4 separate regions of the Homo sapiens genome follow, and all the other regions are linked to region 1. Evidence: promoter capture Hi-C in human tissues and cell types (Jung and others, 2019). All regions are on one chromosome and are shown on one strand. The core of a region is centred on a gene start or on the middle of the fragment in contact, and the rest is flanking DNA. Distances in the headings are between cores, read along the strand shown. Region 1 holds the start of ERCC8 (ERCC excision repair 8, CSA ubiquitin ligase complex subunit). Region 2 has its middle 83 kb from the start of KIF2A. Region 3 has its middle 170 kb from the start of KIF2A. Region 4 overlaps PDE4D (phosphodiesterase 4D).

Region 1 (3,347 bases), core at 380-2,879:
ACATATGAATCAAAATTGACCAATTTGCAATTTTACTTCTTTCAAAGTCTATGGGTGATTGGTCACTGTGCATCTGTTATTCAGTTCACACACAGGCTGCAAAGCATGGAGGTTTGTTATTAATATTTCTGTGCCCTTGAGATAAACCCACATGGAATTTTACAGATTAAAAGAGGAAATTGGCCAAAAGAATGAAAGTGCACTAAAGAAGAGTGATAATACTAGAAGTGAAACTTGCATTAAACATAAATGGAGCAAATGAAAAAAAAGCTGCCTGTGGGAACATGCTGATTGTGGCAACAATGACACTGCCGCCATTTGAGACATTCTAGATATGCAGACTGAGGAAATCAGTGAAGGTGAACTTATAGACATAAATGAGGAAAAGTGATTGTGATGAAAGGCTGATGATGTGTCAGAGGAAGTGACACTGGCAAAAAAAACACATTAAAGGAACTCTCAGAGATATTTCACAACATTGAAAACGTAATGGATAAAATGTTGGAAACTAATATTTAAATTTCTCCAGAACGCAGAACTCATAAGCAACTGTGTTCTCCAAGTAAATATCTTCACAGGTTCCTCAATTAATGTGGGCAAAATTAAAAGTACAACTTGCTTCTTCCCTTTGGAAAACCCTCTCTCAGAGTATATTACCAACATTCAACTTCTTATACAAGGCATAGATCTGGGAATCATTATTCATTCTTCTCTTTTTGTCATTCACGTATCCACTCAATTTCCATGGCCTGTTGATTCTATTTCTCAGACGTTGTTCAAATCTCTCCACTATCTTTATTCTACTTGGCAACTCTGTGGCCCAGGCTTCCAACAACTCTCTCCCGGACAAGTGTAATCACAACAGTTACCTAACTTGGCTCCCACTCTTGTTCTCAGTTGCAACCCATTCTCCAAGCAGAAAACAAAATGCAATAGCTGTTACCTTATTCTCATCTTCACACCTCTACTCAAGTACACAAGGCTCTTCCTCATCTAGTTTCTGTCTACTTCATCTCTTGTCAATGGTCCCTACCCCAATTCTCCGCTCTAGTCATTCTGAACTTTGTTCAATTCCTGGCCTGTGTCCTCTGCCTTTAATAGGCTGCCTGGCACACTGTAGGAATTCACTAAATATGCAGACTGAATGAATGAACGAGTCCGTGGAGGGCAGTTATTCTTTGGAGTAACTTAAGAGAGAAGGAATACAGTACAACGAAGTATTCTTATTTAGGTTTATAGTGTCTTCACCTGAGCCCGCGGGGGAACCCCCCCCCCACCCCCGGGGAACCCCCCCCACCCCCGCCGCCCCCCGCCTGCAAGTTGTTACCAGTAAATAAAAGGGATCCTATTTTAGCAAGCCACACAGCATTAGAGGGCAAATAATAGTTTGGTGGCAGGAGAGCGATGAGACGGGAAAGTGTGGGGCAAAGCTTACAGTCATTGGTCCAGATTCTAACTGGCCTGTTAGCCAAAAAGTAAGGTTTTCTTTACCTCCGTGTTGACTCTGCTCTCCGAAGGCGAAGAGGGTCCTCCAAACCCGTTTGGCGTGCGGACAAAAACCCCAGCATATCGTGTCCTCACACCGGCTGGAGCACTGGACGTCGCCATGACAGAGCTCAGGGGCGGGACTGGAACAGCAGAGTCTCCCATTGGTCAGTCGGTGATATATCCGGCCAATGGTGAGCGCCGTTACTAGAAGGGCTCCAGGATGGAGGCCGACCTGACTTCTCCGCCTCGGTGGGCTGGGTCGGCGGCTGGAGCATTACCCCTACTGCGGGTCCCGCTGCTGGCAGCGCTGGAAACTGGGTGGACGGCATGGGTTGGTCTCAGGATTTGTTCCGCGCCTTGTGGAGATCGCTGTCAAGGGAAGTGAAGGAGCACGTGGGCACGGACCAATTCGGGAACAAATACTACTACATCCCGCAGTACAAGAACTGGAGAGGTGAGGTGGCGGCGTGGGCAGCGATTGCGTGGTCAGTGATTGCGAGGTCAGTAAAGGAGGGAAAAGTGAGAGCCCCTAGTCAACTAACGCATCATGCGACACTTAGGGTGTCACCGGAGAGAATTTCCCGAGTTCGTTCTCCCCTGTCGACCCCTTCACTCTGGCATCGGAGCCCTACCCGGCCCGGCTCTGGGCGCCTTGGCCCGGCCTCGTGCGTCCGCGGTCCCTACTACCCAGCGCCTTCCCCCGGCGTGCCCCGGGCTGCTTGCGCTGTTAAGGCGCACCACCACTTTCCTCCCAGCCACGCCTGTAGAGGAGCCTCAGTTTTAGCCCTGGACTGGCGACGGAGGCAGGGAAAAGTCCACGGAAATCTTTCACCAAAGGGGCTAGAAGGGCCAGGGGAGGGGTTTTTCGTACGCTGTTCCCCGCCTTGTGACCCAGAGCTGAGTGGTGTAATTGAAGAGGAGTATCTTCAGCGCCTCGGCTGTCTTCTTTCTTGGTGTTTACCCTTTTCGGTGGCACCCTGGCTCCGGCGCTGGCCCCATGCGCCTTCCTTACTACCAAGACTTGTCAGAAGTAGGTCCATATCCCCACAAGGCTCGCTGATTCCTTTCTCGGGAGTTGACATTCCAAGACCCCGTTGAGCTCAATTTAAGAAACGTGGCAATAATCATGGTGTTACTGTGTAGGATTCGTGCCAAGTAGTTGAGCGGGTTGTTTGGGGAGTAAGGAGGCGTTGCTGTCCATTGAAATCACACTGTGTAGCCGCCGTCGTAACCTCTTCTGTGTTGTTCCATCGCCGCATGCAGAAAATGTCAGGTTTTGGGCGAAGAGGCGTGGGTTAGAATCTCAGCTTTGACACCTGATAGCTCGGGAATCACGGAAAAAGTACTTGTCCTCTCCAAGTCTCAACATCCTCACTTGAAAGTTAGAGATAATATAAGATCAGCAATGTTGAGAAGCACTAAGACCTTTCCAAGATTATGTGCCATTCATTTCCCACACATATAAAATGTATTCTGTGATTTATCACTCAATTAATTTATTTTTGCCTGGCCTTTTTCTGTAACTTATTTTAATATTTAGACTTGTTTCCCTAATGAGCTCCTCTGTCAGGCAGGGAATATGTCTCACAAAAAAAGAAAAAAGCCTGCAAAGAACATAGCATGGTGTTAAGTATTTCTTGACAGGTTGCAAGCAGAGAGATGTTTCTTTTCCATAAGTTGTCAGTAAAATTAAAAATATGCAAACTGTCAGACTGAGTTTTTTTAAATTGAAATATAATTTACATACAGTAACATTCACCCTTTATGGTGTACAGTTTTATTGTTTTTGACAAATGAGTAGAGTAACCTCACTGGATTCAAGTAATAGAATAATTCCATCACCATCAGAATTTCCTCCA
Region 2 (3,347 bases), core at 399-2,898, 1.3 Mb after region 1:
GAATTATGGAGGTACCTTCCTCTGTCTTCTTTGCAAACTCCTCGTTGCAGCTCCTGCCTTGCAAACCCCTCTGTCTTCCTTGCGAACCCCTCATTGTAGTTCAGAACTCTGCTTTGGCATCGCCTCCTGGTAAAGCCCCTGCTGCGTCCACCCTTCCAGCCACACTTCCTCACTCTCCTCTGCACCACTTTGGTGCTGCAGGAGTTACACTTTCTGTTGCAAAGATCAAGTAGTCTCGGGTGACCTCTGGTGATGTGGGTGATTGGAAAGATACTTAAGGCAATAAGGAAGCACGGGTATGACACTAGGCAGGTTGCAGTCCAGCCTCCCAGAGCCCTGGGATGTCAGTAAGGGCTCCCCTTTGAGTCAGTAATGGTAGCACCCCCTTGAGAAGAGGGACCTTTGGCCCCTGACTCCTGACGGTGCCATACTCACAATTCCACTTCTCTCCTTCACCTCTCTGTGCTTCCGCTTCTCACCAGTTCAGCTGTTACCTCCACTTTTGTTTCTTTCTAATTCTACTCTGGTTCTGTAGTTGAGTTTCTCACAGTGGAAACTACCTGTGCTCTCACTGGTTGGGTCAGTGAGTTGCCTCCACTATTGGGCAGAATTCTGCTATTAGGCCTCCCAGAGCCCATTGGTAAACCTAAGATTGTAAAAATGTAAAACTTTTCTCTCCTCAACGTCATCTGTAATAATGAAACCCCAAAAATATTTACTCTATGTATCCTGTAGTTTTGCACAATTTTGTGGTTACCTTTGGCCAAGTTACAGATTCTTGATCAGTTCGATCATGGTTACTTACCAGGGTCACAAGACAGAAAGTCAACAACTTATGGAAAAAGAACACTCTTTGCTGCTTTGCTCAGAAGGTAATATGTACAAACTTGCATTATTGCATATATCACAATACAGCTTGTTTCTGCATAGCCCAGTCCCCTACAAGACTATAACCGTGAGGCCAGTGGTATTTCCTATATTTGCATGTTCAGCATGTAGCATAGTGCCTGGTACATGGTAGATTCTCAATAAAGCTCTGTTGAAGTTAATTGAAATGAAAGTAAAATCAAAATACCTGAATTCTAATTCTAATTTTGCTATTTCTTTGCTATCTGAACTAAGATAAGTTACTTAACCTTTCTGAACCTCCCTTTCTTCTTAAGTAAAAAGACATAGTTGTGGTAAATATTAAGTAAGATGTGGACATACCTAGCACAGTTTTGTGTGTGTGTGTGTATGTGTGCGTGTGTATACATATATATATATTTAAACATATATATATATTTCAACATATATATATATATATTTAAACTGTCTCTTTGTTATACCACTGCCATGTATTGTAATTACATTCAAATAGATCTTCTCTTAAACAGAGAGTAAGTTTTAAGGACAGGGTCTGTGTCTTATTAACCTTTGCACCTCCATACCACCACCCAAATTTCTGCTTTTGGTGGGTATTTAAGATAATTAATGGCATGAAGCGCCAATGGATTTATAAACTGTATGCGCTTAAAATCTCCATATATTAACATTTTTAACAATTTTTTAAAAGCAGGAAATATTAAGCATGACAAATTACGGTCAACCCGAGTTTCAATAACTCTGGGTGCCTAGCAATCTTCTAAGAGTCAAACGAAAGCAATGTTGCCTAGGTTGCAGTTTTCCAGTGTGTGTCTCCACCTACTGTATTTACTGGAAAGCTGCTGAAGCGTTCCTTCTAATCTTGAGGTTTTCAAGCGTCTATCTCTGGGACAAGCAAAGCTCTGCATTGGGCACCACAGTCTAGCACATGTTTTCAGGCACCACTAGAGGGCAGGCTAACGCTAACTTCGGGGACTACTAAGCAAGGGCTTTAGTCTCGAAAAAATGGGTAAACGCACCACTTGTTTCTTGGGTCTGTTTCTAAATGGAAAAGTACATGTGGGCATGTCCAGATTTGTATTTCGTGTTCCCTTGATTCGTTATTTAATCCTTCGGCTCACCTTTCCTTTTGTTTTCTATTTCCTCCTTCAAGTTCTTTCTCCTCTGGAGTGTAACAAATAAACCTTTTTCCCCCCCCCCCGTCAAAGCCTTAACCCATAAAAATAAATAAAGACGAAGGAACAGAAGGAAACACTGCATAATTTAGTTAGTGAAAGTTGGACAGCTGAGGTTTCCTTTGGGTTTATTCTAAAATAAAGGATTTTTTAAAGGTTCAACTTGCCTAATTTTTCATACTTTGGGCAGCTTGCCAAGATGGGAAGGGAAGGGGATTTGCAGAAAGAAGAAAACAGAGAGAGAGAGAGAGAGAGAGAGAGAGTGTGTGTGTGTGTGTGTGTGTGTGTGTGTGTGTGTGTGTGTGTGCGCGCGCGCGCGCCCTCGCGCACGCGCATAGCGGGGCGCGTTTCTGGGTGTAGGGGATGTTTATAGGGATGGAGGAAGGAAATGAAAAGCAGATGTTGAGGAGTTGGATGGTCACAGAAAGAACACTGGCCTGCAAGTATTACTGGGCCACCATGAGCAGTGCTGGGACACAGCTCCACTGGACAGCCACCCCTTTCTGTAACCTGAGAGCAGCTACCCTACTCACACCTCAGTCTCCTCATCAAGCATGTGAGAAATTTGTACTAGATGATCTTCTGGTTCAAATATGAGCCTGTGTTGAGTGAGAGAAAACATGGGGGTTAGAAACACAGGATGAATATTTGTGGAGAATCTGAGAATGACAAACAGAAAGCAAGCAAGCCAACAAATACACCATGAAGCTGGAAGAGTCTTCCAGCTGACCCAAGTGTAGAAACAGTTGCCCCATTTAGAATATTTGGAACATTTTCCCTCCCATTATCAGGGCTCTAACACCGGGCTGCCCTCTGTTCTACCCTCTGGGAAGTCCAAGGGAAAAAGGTACCAAAGCAGACAAGCAAGGATAGAGACGGTGGTGGCATTGCAGGCTAGTCTGCATTGCGGCTATAGAACAAAAATTTCCAACCCAAAATGATAAGCTAATAAAATTATAAACACAAACTTCCTCTAGCCAGTTAAAACAATGGTTCAAAGAAATACACACCCCTGGGGATCGTACTGCTATTCTTCCATAGTTAGTGGAAGTTCAGTGTTGGTTTTTCATGACTTTTGGAGGCCACTAACTTTCCATTTCACCTGCACAGTTTCAATTACTTTAATCGTATAGCTCTTTAATAATCAGCCTGGCTATGAGTTGGAAGCTTTAACTGCTCTCTGACAATAAGTAGTAGCTAATTAATTGCTACTTATGAACTTTCTATTTTTTTATCTTAATACTTCTGAGAGTCCTTTCCAGATAATCACTAGAGAATAAGGAGTTTTTACCCCCATGTGGCTATTCC
Region 3 (3,347 bases), core at 413-2,912, 1.2 Mb after region 1:
TTCTTGTTGAGGAAATAGATGCAGTAACAGTGGAAAAGATGCAGTAATACAGTGAAAGCAAGCCCTTCCTTACCCCTCTCCTTTATCACACTTTCCAAAAAACCCAGTTAGCATTATGGAGAATTCCTTATCATTCCAGACTTTTGTATGCCTTTGCTTACACACATACACACACACATACACACACACACACACACACACACAATGTCCTCTTCTTACACAAAAAAGTAAATGGAGGGATCATACAGTTTTACAGATTTTTGCCTCTTGTTTTTTCTTTTAACTTAATATCTACCACAGAAGCCTTTCCAAGACAGAATACACAACTCATTTTTACAAACTGCATACTCCTCCATTGCACTGAATTCCTAATTTTACTTAACCATTGCCCTCATAATAGTCCTTTTGGTTTTTGTTGTTATTGCCGTAGTTTGGTTTTGTATTATCCATAGCACTCAATGCTCCTGTGAAAATCTTCATATATATGTACAAGTATTTCTACAGGAATCATTCCTAGAAATACAATTGCCAGGCCATACATGTATGTACTTTTAAAAAAATATTTTCATAGCTGCTCCAAATTGAGAAGAACCATTTCCTAAATAAAATGTAAACTCTTGTTAGAATTGCTGTCAAAATGAAAAAGATGACTGACAAAAATTTTACATTTCAAAGACAGAACATTGATGAAAATCTCTTTGTTTTAAAGATGATGGTTTTCTTATTTTAAATAAAATCTTTTTAAATTCATAAGGCATATACTATTAAGATATACCATGAGGCAAACCACATTTTGTAAATGAAAGCTTAGGAGATCAGTCAAAGAAAGACAAAAGGAACCAGTTCCAATGTCTGTTGCTCAATATTGGTGTCTGTTCAAACGTTAGCATTGTCAGCCTCATATTTCTCTGCGGTGGTTTTCAGTTACTCTAAAAGGCTGTTTAAGCACCCAACTGACTTGAATCAGATTTTCTGGGCCTGTGGCTTGGGCAACTGAGTTTAGAATGTTCCCAGGTGATTCTAAAGTACAATGATGCTGAGAACCACAGCTACAGAGCTTGCTAATTTTAAAATTTCTGAATTTTTAGCAAAAAAAGTAATGCAGCCATTCAGTGGCATTGCAATAATAAATGAACACTTAAAAGGAAGTTATAAGTGTAGAATTTTCTGAATTTTAAATTGATTAAATTTACAAAAAGAAATGCATTTCTAATATTTTTTTATTTTGTTGAATTAATCATCATGTGAAACAGTTACTCACGACTAGGAGTATTTGCAAAAGGCAGATGTATGGCTCTAGAGAAACCAAATAATAGGATAAGCTGGAATATGGAAGAAGGGATAAAAGGACAACAGATGGAACCAGGCAGGGTTAATACATATAGTGTAAATGAAGTAGAAGTTTTTGAAGCCCAAAGTCATGGAAGAAGTCTTTAGAAGGCCAGAGCTTTCCTAGCTTCAGTTTTTAGGAATACATCGGCACTGCCCAATAAAAGGCAGATAACAAGCCTCAGTAAATTATTATTATTATGGTGATAGTGAAACCACATCATAAGCGATGAAAAAATAATAAAAGAAGAGATTATCAGCACAGGAGGAGGTCAGGCCTGCAGCCAGCACCAGTTCATGTCAAAGCCAGCAACAATTCATAAAGTCGTAAAAGGTAATTGTGGAATAGGGACTTGGGAAAGACAATTACAGAATTAAAACCCAGGCCCTCTCCTGCATAGGGTACGGATGGATGAGGTGTCCTTTACCTTTTTCTGCCACTAGAATCTTTGTGTCAAATGAAAGTCAACTACTTTACACCCACAAAGAAGACTATGTCAAAGTGTGCAGTATAATTATGTAATTTTATAACAGCTAATGAACACTCAATATTTCAAGTCAGTTTGACGATAGCCTGCCACTGTCTCTCACAATTCCTAGGTGATTCAATGTTTAGCACTCTGTTTTCTAATTTTCTTACAATACTATGTTCTAAACTTCCACCCCTTTTGTTAAGACTAGAGTATGGGTATGATGCTTGGAAAACTCGTTCCATTAAAAATCCAGAGGTGAAGTCCATCACATTTAAAGAGTGGAACAGCACTTGGAATCCTAAAACTAGAAAACAACATTCAAGACAAGAAAGTAGATGATAACCCCCTGGGTTTCAGAATCCCTGCTGCTGCATCAGGTCCAGGTCCCAGGGCTACAAGAAGGGACAAATGAGGAGCTTATCAAAGCCATTCAATTGAATTTGAAGAATTGGCCCATAACCTGACAAAGGATTTTGTGTGATAGTAAATAAAATAACATAAAATAGTAACATCCGACCAGGCGCGGTGGCTCACGTGTGTAATCCCAGCACTTTGGGAGGCCGAGGTGGGCAGATCTTTTGAGGCGAGGAGTTTGAGACCAGCCTGGCCAAGAGGGCAAAACTCTGTCTCTACTGAAAAAAAAAAAAAAAATACAAAAATTAACCAGGCATGGTGGTGTGAACCTGTAGCCCCAGCTCCTTAAGAGGCTGAGGCAGGAGAATCTCTTGTACCCCGGGGGTCAGAGGTTGCAGTGAGCCAAGATCACACCACTGCACTCCAGCCTGGGTGACAGAGCGAGACAAAAACAAAAGAAAAAGTAGCATTCAACCTCCAGCTATGACTTTCCAAGACCACCTAGACAGTGGCAGAAGCCCCTGACTAGGAGATAGAACACTCCTGCTTAAATTTCCTTCAAGCACATGTGTTGTGTATTGGCCTTGACATCAGGATGTCAACATAGTAATTTCAATGGTGAAATCATACTTATTGGTTTCCCTGGGGTGTTGTTAAAATCTCATGGGCTTCTGTACCCATCGTAAAACAAAATTCAGATTCACTGTTTTTTTAATAAATATATATTAAATCACTTTGCTATTATCTCAGAAGCAAAATAAGAATAGGGCAAGAATGTGATAATCCTACCACAAAAAGGCTGAGAATTCCTGAATTCGGAACAGTAAGCTATCATTTCAGAGAGCACGAAGGTTAGACTTCTTCAACGGAGAAAGCTGCCTAGAAGGATGTACGTAGAAAGAAATGCAGAGAGTAAAGCTACACAGGGACCTGCTTTAGGGAAAGAAACAAGGTGACTTGCAGGAGGAAGAAAAGTATCATGGAAGAAGCAGAGAGCTTTAAAGGTAAAAACAAAGGTGATTCTGACGCATAAAAGCAGGAGGGAGCCCATAGCACACATGTAGTAAAAGTCTGTTAGAACATTTACTAAGAAACAGAGAAAAGAAAACAAGGCAGGGAAATGTCACATGGCATACATTCCAGACAATTTAGCTATGCTATTTTCGTCTCGATTTTTCATTTTTAATTCAA
Region 4 (3,347 bases), core at 227-2,726, 1.2 Mb before region 1:
GACCTTAAACAAGCAAATGGTGACTTTACTAAAGCAGTGACAACAGAACTCAGTTCTATGGGCTCAGAGAAGAGATAAATCCATGAGTAGTAAGGGTATAAAGGGCTTCCCTGGGGAGGAAACGTGGCACAGAAACGGAACTAAGATTAATTAAGGATGGGCAATAGGATGGTAGGCATTATTCCCATTGTACTCATGTGGAAGCTAAGGCTTGGAAATATTTCATAACAAGTCTGAGGCCACAGTAGAACCAATACGTGGCAACGCCTACATTTAAAACCAGTTTACTTTTATTTTTTTTCATTTCAAATTCCGGGCACTTAAAATACTAGCAACCAACTTTGAGGCTCCAAGAAGCTGTGTGTGTGTGTGTGTGTGTGTGTGTGTGTGTGTGTTTTGAGGAAGTGGGCATGGAGTGAAGGAGGAAAGTAAGAACACCACATGGAAAAAGCACTAACAAGGGTGGCCAATGCAACAATGCATGTGATGTATTTGGGGGATTATGGATGGAAAATCCAGCTGGCATAGAGGTTTGTGCCGTGAAGGAGAAGAACGCAAGGTGGTAAAAGCATGCTGAGAATAAGTGAATATGCAAAGGAGTTTGGACATTTTCCACTACAAAATAAGGCCTCTTTGGAAATCTTCAAACAGAGGAGTGATCTAATCCAGGTGGTTTTAAGAAGATGGGTTTGGCATCATGTAAACTAATTGACTGGGGAAGAAACAGAACAAAAAGGCCCTTGATCTGCAGAGATATGGCTCTGGCTTAGGGTAGAAGAGACAGAAGGACAGGAACTGGTATGAAGGGAGATTTGAGAAAAGAGTGACTGATTGGAATTGGAATTGGAGCTGAAGGTGGCTGTGTTAAAAAATGACTGTAGGCTTCAAGCTTAGGTGGCAGAAAGAATGATCATGACATTCACAGAAGTGGGGAAGTCAGGAGGATGCTGATATGCAGGGAAGAAGAGTCAGCTTACACCCATTGAGTTCAGTGGCAAGACAGTCAAATGGAATGTCCGATAGGTAGGAAATCAGAGCAAGACTAGCAATCTGACTGCAGACTCAGGAGTCCCCGAGGAGCCTGAGTGAGTTCCGTGGAGGTGCATGATTTCCATGGGAGCAACACACTCAGAGGCAGAATGACTCAGGAACCACGTCCTGGGAGATGTCCAGCGTCCAGCTGTGAATACCACAAACTTTTGTCTATAGTGATGATGAAATATTGACTCTGGAATTTTGGATTTTGTGCCTTAAGGGAAGCTTGCAAACGGTGGCCAAGCACCTAGAGAGAGAACTAGTCATATGATTTGTTTATTTCATGCCTGCTGAATAATTGTTTAGTTAATAAATGTCCTTATGTAAATCAGAATTTAATCTAAGATGCTTTTATTCTAATTAGGTGGTGACATTATAAGGAAGTAGTTAACTCCTCTCACCTCCAACTTCACTGGCAGTTACCAATGTCCAACCAAAACAACCAAAATGTGTTCATAATAATATTGGTTTAGGTCAGTTGCCAAAACAGTTGAACATGAACATCTAGCCTTTTAAAGGATGAAGATTCATTCATAATGGTTCAACCAAAAAGAAAAGAATGGTTTTAGAAATGTTTTCCAGGCACATTTAATGCAAAGGAAAGCTCTAGTAAAACAATTATCTGCTTGACTTGTTCATTTCACGTGGATGGGGATTAGACCTTCTGATCAACACCTGCCTATTCAACATTTATCTATATATGAAATGGCTTTTTTAATGTAAGAATTTTTTCCCCTTAGGGGCTCATAGATTAAGCCGTGGTGACAGAGAGCAATTGCATTTTTAAGTGTTACTACTTAGGTATAAATGGTGATCATCTGATTTAATCCCTATCCCAGTGGGCCATCATGAAAATACAGCTCATATATACAGCTCCTGTGGCGTGCAGGACGTTACCATGTGGTATTTGCCAATATGGGACATTGCACTCATGTGTATACACACACATGCACAGACACACATGCACAGGCACATGCACACACACAGATGCACATACAGACATGGACACAGACATACACACAGACATGGACAGATACACAGACACACACACAGAGGCGCACACACACACACACACACACACACACACACACACACACACACAGACAACTCTAGCTATCTCTGAGGTAATTCAACAAGCCCTGCAGTTGGCTTCATCTTTATATTCAGAACTTGTTTTTTTATCTTTCCTTTGAAGAGTAATCCTATCTGAGACAGAAAGAAGATGAGTCACACTGAGGCAAAACTTTGTAGGTAGAAATGTGCATAAATGCGCTTCTCTAAGATGCTCATGAAGAAAAGACAAAAGAACAGCCATGTCGCTGAGATGCCATCTGTGAGGCTGGCACAGTGAGGCACGACATCCCTGGTGCTTCCCGGCAGCCTGCGAGGGCTGCCTCCCTCCTTCCCTCCCTCCCTCCTGCTTGCAGGTCCGCTTTCAGAGCCTTCCCTCAGGGCTTATGTTCCACTGACCTATAAATGTTTACTGTAATTATACCAATTGTCACCTCCTGCATTGTCCACCATTCTTCTTGCCCTTCTCTATTTTTAAAAATTTTGTCTTCAAAATAGCATGCTTCACAGTAAAAATCTCAAGTGAAAATATAATAAAACAAACAAAACATAGTTCATCAAGGCATTCAAAACAACTCTTTGTGACAACAGTTTAAAAAACAGTGAATTAATGATGAATTGTGCAAAAAAAAGTTTAAGATGCCATCTCTGATCCTTCATATAACACTTTTTTTCAGCTGGAAAAATCCAAGAATGAATGAAAGAGCTTGTAGATAGGCCCAGACAGTGGGCAGCATGGCTCTTCTCCAGCCTGGGACACAGCTCATCACTCAGGGTGGATCCTGGAGAGAAGCTGCCTGAGTTCAGCCTTTGCCTATCCCAGTACTCACTGTGTGCACCCAGAGGAGCTTCTGTGTATCTGTGAGACCCTGTTTCCTCATCTGCAATACCAGGACTCATATCCTAGCGGGGCTCTGAAAACTAGATCAGCTAATGTAAGGCTTGGCCATGTATTTTCTCAAGAATCGTTGCTGTGAAAGAGCCAGTGAAGTCACAGAGGGTAAAGTCAATGGTCAACCTTCCTGATTAATGAATATTGATTGAGCATTCACCATTTAATAGTTAGCTCCTTCTAAGTCTAATCGTTTTTAGTTTCTCCTGACACCTGTCATGTAAGAGGCTCTATATGTGAGGATAGACTTAGGGGGCAGTTGGTTCCTCTTTTTGGACACAGAACAGGAAGAATAAAGAGATCTCAGAAGGAAAAGGAAAGTGGGAGGAGGCTGGGTCTGTGGGTTCCC

Evidence for each region. The method cuts DNA at HindIII sites, captures the fragments that hold promoters and counts their contacts. A contact is called where the count stands out against the background at its distance.
Region 2: a contact is called between a fragment that was not itself captured here and the fragment with the promoter of ERCC8 in region 1, in 1 of the 25 tissues and cell types used here (dorsolateral prefrontal cortex).
Region 3: a contact is called between a fragment that was not itself captured here and the fragment with the promoter of ERCC8 in region 1, in 1 of the 25 tissues and cell types used here (dorsolateral prefrontal cortex).
Region 4: a fragment that was not itself captured here is called in contact with the fragment with the promoter of ERCC8 in region 1 in 1 of the 25 tissues and cell types used here (dorsolateral prefrontal cortex).

The regions. Positions count from the first base shown.
Region 1 is chr5:60,943,441-60,946,787 of GRCh38, forward strand. ERCC8 (ERCC excision repair 8, CSA ubiquitin ligase complex subunit) reads right to left here and starts at 1,630. Exons shown (of 12, transcript NM_000082.4): 1 at 1,492-1,630. The coding sequence starts at 1,568. It overlaps NDUFAF2 (NADH:ubiquinone oxidoreductase complex assembly factor 2), which reads left to right and starts at 1,765. Exons shown (of 4, transcript NM_174889.5): 1 at 1,765-1,942. The coding sequence starts at 1,816. RefSeq lists an enhancer at 2,401-2,530. The HindIII fragment of the contact is 9,089 bases long and covers 1-3,347 here.
Region 2 is chr5:62,221,752-62,225,098 of GRCh38, forward strand. No RefSeq gene overlaps it. Among named protein-coding and RNA genes, the nearest start is that of KIF2A, 83 kb to the right of the region's middle. RefSeq lists a silencer at 1,724-1,873. The HindIII fragment of the contact is 5,325 bases long and covers 1-3,347 here.
Region 3 is chr5:62,139,022-62,142,368 of GRCh38, forward strand. No RefSeq gene overlaps it. Among named protein-coding and RNA genes, the nearest start is that of KIF2A, 170 kb to the right of the region's middle. The HindIII fragment of the contact is 5,532 bases long and covers 1-3,347 here.
Region 4 is chr5:59,792,045-59,795,391 of GRCh38, forward strand. All of the region lies in intron 1 of PDE4D (phosphodiesterase 4D), which reads right to left. It overlaps LOC105378988 (a long non-coding RNA gene), which reads left to right. Exons shown (of 2, transcript XR_001742413.2): 2 at 2,784-3,347. Among named protein-coding and RNA genes, the nearest start is that of MIR582, 90 kb to the left of the region's middle. The HindIII fragment of the contact is 5,222 bases long and covers 1-3,347 here.